Linked DNA regions of Homo sapiens: region 2 is linked to region 1. The links are contacts of gene promoters, found by promoter capture Hi-C in blood cells and fetal thymus (Javierre and others, 2016). All regions are on one chromosome and are shown on one strand. The core of a region is centred on a gene start or on the middle of the fragment in contact, and the rest is flanking DNA. Distances in the headings are between cores, read along the strand shown.

Region 1 (3,907 bases), core at 558-3,057:
AAGTTTTTTGTATGTATTTTTAGTAGACATGAGGTTTCACCATGTTGGCCAGGCTAGTCTCGAATTCCTGACCTCAGGTGATCCGCCCACCTCGGCCTCCCAACGTGCTGAGATTACAGGCGTGAGCCACCGTGCCTGGCCCAACCAATTTTTTTTTTTTTTTTGAGATAGAGTTTCGCTCGTTGCCTAGGCTAGAGTGCAATGGCGCGATGTCAGCTCACCGCACCGCACCCTCCACCTCCCGGGTTCAAGTGATTCTCCTGCCTCGGCCTCCTGAGTAGCTGGGATTACAGGCATGCGCCACCACGCCCGGCTAATTTTGTACTTTAAGTAGAGACGGGGTTTCTCCATGTTGGTCAGGCTGGTCTCAAACTCCCGACCTCAAGTGATCCGCCCGCCTTGGCCTCCCAAAGTGCTGGGATTACAGGTGTGAGCCACCGCGCCGACCTGGCCCAACCAATTTTTATTGAGCACTTGCTGTGTATCCCAGGCATTTGTGATACAACAGTGAGCAAAACATTCTTTCGGGGGGAAGGGAGATGAACAGTACATAAATGGGAGAAAAATGCAGGGAAAGCGGGTATAGGGAGATGGAGAGAAGACAGGTACCACAATCTTCTGGCCTTGTTAGGGTGAAATTCTATTCTCCCCTGAGATGTGTAGAAATGTATATCGGTTTGCTCCATTTTTATTGACCCACACTGCCTTGATTAACTGGAAAAGTTGAGACCCTAATCATCAGTCTGTCAATGACTGAATGAGACAGGACAGGAGATATATTCACCAAATGTCTCCTGGAATAGGGAGGCCCCGGGTGAATGATCCCAGACTGGGTTGATAGGAAGGAAGTAAATTAATACCAAATGTGAAGGGTAGTGGGCTTGTTTTATTTTTATATTATTATTTTATTATCACTATTAGTTGAGACAGGGTCTCATTCTGTTGCCCAGGCTGGAGTGCAGTGGCGCCATCTTTGATCACTGCAGCCTCAGTCAACCTCCCAAGCGAACCTCCAGCCTCAGCCTCCCAAGTAGCTGTCACTACAGGCAGGAGGCACAACACCCGGCTAATTAAAAATACATTTCAAAAATATAAAAACAAAACCCAAAACCTTTGTAGAGAGGGTGGTCTCTTACTCTTGGCCTCAAGTGATTCTCCCACCTCGGCCTCCCAAAGTGCTGGGATCACAGGTGTGAGCAGCTGCGCCCCGCCTGGGGTTGCTCTTGAGGAGCCAAACTTTGCCAGATTAGGCTGACAGTGAGAAAATAAATTCTTCCACGGTAGATACTGGGTGAAAAAGTGCACGTCAGCGGGCAAGGGTAAGTAACGACAATAACAGGAACTTCTAGGCGCTGACCCCAAGCTCCCTTCCGGGCCCTATCCCGAGCAGTCCCCGGGCAACCTCCAGCGCTCGCCCCGGCGCGCTAGGCTGGGACCTGAACCCCGGCTGCCGGGTGGCTTCTGGGCCCCTCCTCATTGCCGCTCCTGGGTCTTTCGGGGTGTCCGGCTCCCCAGGATGGGAAGGATTCCGGTTCACCTCCGCAGGGCTAAGTCACCGGGCGGCCCGCCTCGGCCCCCAGGGCCCGGGGGCAGGGAGCGCCGAGGGTCCGCCGCGGGGCTGCGGCGCAGGCGGTGCCGGGGCGCGGCGCTGCGGGGCAGGCGGGCCTCGGCGGCGGCGGCAGGCGGGTCGCTCCCTGCTCCGCCTCCCGTGCTCCGCCCTGCGCTCCCGCTCCGCCCTCCGGCTCGGCGCCCGCCCGCTTGCTCTCCTCGCTCGCTCGCTCGCTCCGCGGCCCCCCATGCGGATGTGACATTTCACGCCGCCGCCATTTTGAGAGCGAGCCGAGCCGAGCTGCCGGGCGCCGCGTCCGCTGCCGGAGCCCCGACGACGACGCCGAGGAGGCGGAGGCCGCGGCTCTCGGAACGCGGCCGGCCCGTCGCCCGCCCGCTCCGCCGCTCCCGCCGGCCCCAGGGCCCGCAGGCCCGCCGCGGCCGGCCAGGCCTCCCGTCCGCCGCGCCCGGCCCGAGGCGGGGCTGACTCCGCGGCCCCCGACCGGCCGCCCTCCGCCCCCGGCCGGCCCGCGGCCCCGCAGCCCCGGCCCCGGCCCCGGCGGCGGGAGGCGGGCCCCGCGGCGGCGGCGGCGGCGGCCGCAGCGAGCGACGAGGCCGCCCGGCCCGGCCCGCCGGCCGCCCGCCCGCCTCGGCGCCGAGATTGGGCGAATCGCGAGCAAGTACGTGCGCGTCTCCCTGCCGCCGCCGCCGCCCGCCGCGGGCCGCCCCGGGGCCGCCGTCGCCGACGACGCGCGGGAGGAGGAGGAGGAGGCCGCCCCGCCGCCGCCGCCGCCGCCGCCGCCCCGGCTCGCCGCCGCCCGCCCGCCGGGCTCGCAGCCCCGGCCCCCGGCCGCAGGCGAGGCCCAGGCCGCGGCCGACATGAACCACCAGCAGCAGCAGCAGCAGCAGAAAGCGGGCGAGCAGCAGTTGAGCGAGCCCGAGGACATGGAGATGGAAGGTGAGGCCCGAGGGCCGGCCGCGGCGGGGCCGGGGGGCGCCTTTCATTGTGGCCGGGGGAGCCGCGGGAGCCACGCGAGGGGCTCGCCATCTTTAACCAGGCCCCGGGCGGCCGCCGGGCCTCGGCCTGGCCTCCCGGCCCCGGCCTGCGAGGCTGCAAAGTCATGCCGGGTCCGCGGGCGAGGGGCGGCCGCCGGGACCCCGGCCCCGTGCATTGTCCCGACCTCGCGTCCGCCGGGCCTCCGCGGCACAAAGCGCCCTGAGTTGTAAATTCGAGCGCTCAGGCAGCGGAGGGACGGAGGTGTTTTCTCACCCAGGTTGGGAGGCGGACTCCGGGGACCGTCCCCGTTCTGGGGCGTCCGGTTGGATCTGGTGTGGCTGGGGAATTCCTGACCTCCCCGGGCGCGGGGCTCGCCCGCACCTGCTCCGGTGCGCTCCCCCGGAGGGCGCGCCGTGGCTCGGAAGCGCTCTTCCAAATCACTTTCTAACAGCACTGCCTAGCGTCGGGCTTACGTTCGAAAATACCTGCAAGGAACGCAGATGTTGTCAGGTTTTGGACTGGCCCAGAGTTCTGACCCGGGCGCTGTTGGTTTCCGAATCCACCTGTTTTTCGGGGAGTTTGTACTTGGCAGTGTGTGGTGCAGCCAGCATCCGGCCAGGTGTGCGCTTGCAACCGTGCGAAAGCCCTGCCGCACATGGCTGCCTGCATCAGAATCAAACCTGACTCGAAAGGTAACTCGGTTTTCTGCCGATGTGGCAGTAATTTTCCAAGGCACTGTAGTTTGAGGTATAGAGTCTTGGTTGTAAAGGTTGGATGTGAAGACGCTGTAAAGAGAAGGGTGTTGGATTTAGGGAGTTGGTCGTTGGAAGGCACTTTTTCTCACGACCCATTTCACTGAAACAAAGCAAAGTCCAAATGGTCTTTAAAAAGTTTTCTTACCTACGTGACGAGTTCAGGCTGTCGGGAGTCAAATGGAGGCCACCTGAATGAAAACGGCGTGGAATGCTTTAGTTTTGCTTTTAGCAAGGGATCTTGGGTTGCCTCAATGAATGAAGCTCCAGGGGAGCTCAGGAAAAGCAGTATTTGTCCTGTGCGGTGGCTCCAAGTGTGGGGCGCTGCACACCGGTTGGTGGGAACACTTAAGCGTGACTGGTGTTCACCTCTGAATAGAATAACTTACTTCCAGTAATTGGATAGTCACTGAAAAAATGGCTGGCCAGGTTGCAAATGACAAAGTGGCTGGGATTCTGCAGTAGGCACTCCCCAGTGGTATTTATCAATGGCAGTAATGGGGGACAGAAGAGCGGAGTCCACGCCAAGGACTGGGTTATCTGTTTCACTTGGCCCCAGCAAAGCAGCAACTAAGAGCGCCTGTTATGTGTGATTAAACCAAATAGCTGA
Region 2 (3,907 bases), core at 792-3,291, 140 kb after region 1:
TGTCATAAAACCTAAGATTGTGCCTGAGATATTTTGTAGACCCTGTGTTCTGATGCAGTATCTGATGCCACACAGACAGGTAATCTGGCTCAACCAGCTCTTTGATCCCACCAGGAACAGAAGATAGCAAGAAAAACTCACTTCCACCCCCTATGATTTCATCTCCAAGCCGACCAATCAGCAATCTCCACTTCCCAAGCCCCTACCCAGCAAGTTATCCTTAAAAACTCTGATCCCCAAATTCTTGGAGAGGCTGATTTGAGGAATAATAAAACTCCAGTCTCCTGTACAGCCAGCTCTGCGTGAATTACCCTTTGTCTACTGCAACTCTCCTGTCTTGATAAATCGGCTCTTGTCTAGGCAGTGGGCAAGGAGAACCTGTTGGGCAGTTACAGGGCCAATGAGACAAGAGCCTGCTCTGAAATGGCGTAGAGCAGTAGTGGCTCTCCCTGGCTAGAGTCCCTGGGGATGCCTTAAAAATGCTTGTTTGGGGCATGGCCCAAGCCCAGGGTCATGATGTTTTGAAAGTGATCAGGTGATTCCAATATATATCCAGGGCTGAGCACCAGTGACTTAGAATCTAGGAAAAAACACCCCTTGGCTTGGGGGCGAGGGTGGAACCTGAGCTGGCCAAGGGGCTAGTGGCCCTAGGGCGAGTGACCCTTGGGTCTGTTGACGGCTCTGAGCACAGCCCTCTCATTTCACCTCTCCGGCCTTCAAGGGCAGAGGAGACAGCTCTGTGACGGATCTGGGCCTGGAATGCCCACAGGAGATGCCGATTCTGCGGACATCAAGGGGCTCCCTGGAAGGCCAGCCCCACTCCAGGGGTTTGAAGCCAGTGTCTCCCTGAATGAAAGAGCTTCAGCACAGACACAGGCAGGGATGCTCACTCTGTGGGCTGGTTGTTAGCCACAGTCCTATTCCTGGGACCAACACCCAGGGCCATGGACTCTGTGGAGTCTGGCACTCAGGAGGAAGGTGGGCTAGCAGGAACATCTGAAGCTCGTGGCTCCCATGCATGACACCCTGCTTCCTGGCCTCCCACACAGGAGCGGGTGGGACATCTCCACCAGGCTGAGAACCTCTCATCAATTTCTGCCAGTCAGTTCTGGAAGCTGACTGTGGGAGCGGCAATTCACTCAGGGTCCCTCCAGGAGTGAGGGACTCACATGTTAAGAAGCTAAGTCTGCCACCAGCCACACAAGAAGACCTGGGTCTCAAATCATGTGGTCCCAGCAATAAGTAGTAAGACAGATCTATCCACAGAATCCATTCTGTGCCCTCCTTAGCCTTGAGTCCTGAAAGAGCTACAGATGCTAGGCATGGTTAAGTCCAGGATCGCAAAGGCCAACTGCCATCCAAAGCCTAACTTGGAACCTGAGGACAGGAGGACATGGTTCACTAATTCACGCTCTAATGAACTGTTGGAAGGTGTGTAGGAAGGTGCTCACTCACAAGGATGGCCCTTCACTGAGGGACTTGGCAGGCTCCAATCTCTTAGGAAAATCTCAATAACAGATGAGCCTTTGAATAACTTTCTTAGAAAGTGAAGGAAGCAGACGCTGGTTGTGGACCAGGCCAAAGATGCATGTCCCAGCTGCCTTTCCTGAGTCAGGCCCTGCGTCACCCACTTTCCTCAGATGCCTTCACTTCATTCTCATATGACTCCTTCAGAAGAGCAACTGTGGTCGGGAGTGGTGGCTCACGCCTGTAATTCCAGCACTTTGGGAGGCCAAGGTGGGCGGATCACTTGAGGTTAGGAGTTCAAGACCAGCCTGGCCAAGATGGTGAAACCCCGTCTCTACTAAAAATACAAAAATTAGCCAGGCGTGGTGGTGGGCACCGGTAATCCCAGCTACTCAGGAGGCTGAAGTGGGAGGATCACTTGAGCCCAGGAGTTCAAGATTACAGTGAACCAAGATTGCGCCACTGCACTCCAGTCTGGGTGACAGAGTGAGACCTTGTCTCAGGAAAAAAAAAAAAAAAAAGAAGAACTGTGTCCTCACTGGGCTGACGAGGTCACTGTCACTGTCCTCACTGTCACAAGGTCACTGGTGAATGGTGGGGCCAGATCTGGGTCAACATGGTCCACACTGATACAAACCTCTTTTAAGCTAATTTTGTTTTTCTTTATTTGTTTATTGAGACAGAATTTCACTCTGTTGCCCAGCCTGGAGTGCAATGGCACAATCTCAGCTCACTGCAACCTCCGCCTCCCGGGTTCAAGCGCTTCTCCTGCCTCAGCCTCCTGAGTAGCTGGGATCCAGGCATGCGCCACCACGCCCAGCTAATTTTTGTATTTTTAAGCTAATTTTAAAGGCAGATCTTCCTTATTAACATTTCTGGAGAATAAAATGTTGCACAATTTACTTAAAAGGAAGGCAGGTAGCATGTTAGAAGCGATGTAGGAGAATGACAGAGGCGAGGCTTTCAGATCCCAGCTTAGTCTCTGACTAGCTGAGACCCTGGACTTCCCACTGTGCTTCCTCTGTAAGAGGGAGGATGCTGCTGTCTCCCCTGGGAGCATGTACAACATAAGTGTCCAGCTCAGGGTCTGACACTGAGGAAGTGCTGGAAGATTTACATTTCCTCCCTTTTTTCAATTTTTAAAAATTTTTAATTTTTATTGTTTTTTTTTTTTTTAAGAGACGAGGTCTCGCTCTGTTGCCTAGGCTGGAGTGCAGTGGCGCAATCGTGGCTCACTATAATCTTGAACTCCTAGGCTCAAGTAATCCTCCCACTTCAGCCTCCCTAGTAGCCAGGATTACAGGGATTACTCAGATCCTTTTCTCAAGTTGATTTAAAAATTTTATTTTTCAATAGATAGCACATTCATATAGTTCAAACATATTAAGAAAGAGTTAAGACCTAGGTGGCAATTCTCTCTCCTGTCCTCCCCACCCCCACAGTAACCTCTGTAAATTTCATCCATTCAGACTCCTTTTATGCATTTATAAGCTAACAAAAAGAGAAATTCCTTTGCCCTCTTTAGACAAAAATGTAGCCAGCACATTACTTATATTGTCCTGCACTTTGCTTTGATCACCTAACAAAAAGCCCTAGAGATGGGTCCACATGGACTCTTTTTACAGCTACATGGCATCCCAGTGCAGAGACAGACCACTGTCATGTGGCCAGCCTCCTGAGGAGCAGCGGGGCTGTCCCCAACCCTGAACCCTCTGCGTGAGTCTTTCACACATGCTTGAGTGCACTGATAGCCAAATTACCCAAAATGGAAGCGTCAAGTCAAAAACCAAACCAGCTGCTTGATATTCATGAAGTGTTAGAATGTTTTCATGTTGCAACTGCCTTAAAGCCAAGATGACTTTTACAGAAAGCATGGGTAAGTACAGGTTCTCTTGCCTGCGAATTCAGAGTGGCTGAGGGTGATCCAGCCAGGGTGGTTTCTGGAAAGCCATGCAGAGCCATGTGTGGTGTGTGCTCTCTGCCCTTGCCGTCTCTCTCTCTCTGCAACAAACCAAGGTACTCCATGCCAGGCCCAGGGCCTCCATGCTGAACTCAGAGCCAGATTTTAAGAAACACTGGCTTTTGTGGCTGATGGGAAGAATGACAGGGTTTCTGAAGATGGCAAATATTTTGAAAAGCAACGGCCAACGCCACACTTCCTCACTCTGCTCTCGAGTTGCTCCAAGCAGATGGCACCCTTTATGTAACACCAGACTCTGCCTCCTGGAGGCTGTGCTGCTGGAAGAGGCTGCTAAGCCTCAGGGCCTGGCTGAGAAATGGCTTTTTTACTGACAGCCTCAGCTCAGGATCACTTCCCTGGACGCCGGCAAAAACATCAAACTTCATTAGGAAAGGAAAAAACCCCAGCTTTCTAAATGTCTATCACTGAAAATGCAAAGTGTAAGGCTAGTATTTGGATTGCTCTGCACCTGAAGTTTCA

Evidence for each region. The method cuts DNA at HindIII sites, captures the fragments that hold promoters and counts their contacts. A CHiCAGO score of 5 or more calls a contact.
Region 2: a fragment that was not itself captured here is called in contact with the fragment with the promoter of USP7 in region 1 in 1 of 17 cell types (non-activated CD4 T cells); the score reaches 5.1 in non-activated CD4 T cells.

The regions. Positions count from the first base shown.
Region 1 is chr16:8,961,806-8,965,712 of GRCh38, reverse strand. USP7 (ubiquitin specific peptidase 7) reads left to right here and starts at 1,807. Exons shown (of 31, transcript NM_003470.3): 1 at 1,807-2,506. The coding sequence starts at 2,428. It overlaps USP7-AS1 (USP7 antisense RNA 1), which reads right to left and starts at 3,000. Exons shown (of 2, transcript NR_184341.1): 1 at 2,819-3,000. RefSeq lists enhancers at 1-203, 2,900-3,436 and a silencer at 1,345-1,704. The HindIII fragment of the contact is 5,189 bases long and covers 1-3,907 here.
Region 2 is chr16:8,818,433-8,822,339 of GRCh38, reverse strand. All of the region lies in intron 7 of PMM2 (phosphomannomutase 2), which reads right to left. Among named protein-coding and RNA genes, the nearest start is that of PMM2, 23 kb to the right of the region's middle. RefSeq lists a silencer at 3,095-3,144. The HindIII fragment of the contact is 5,228 bases long and covers 1-3,907 here.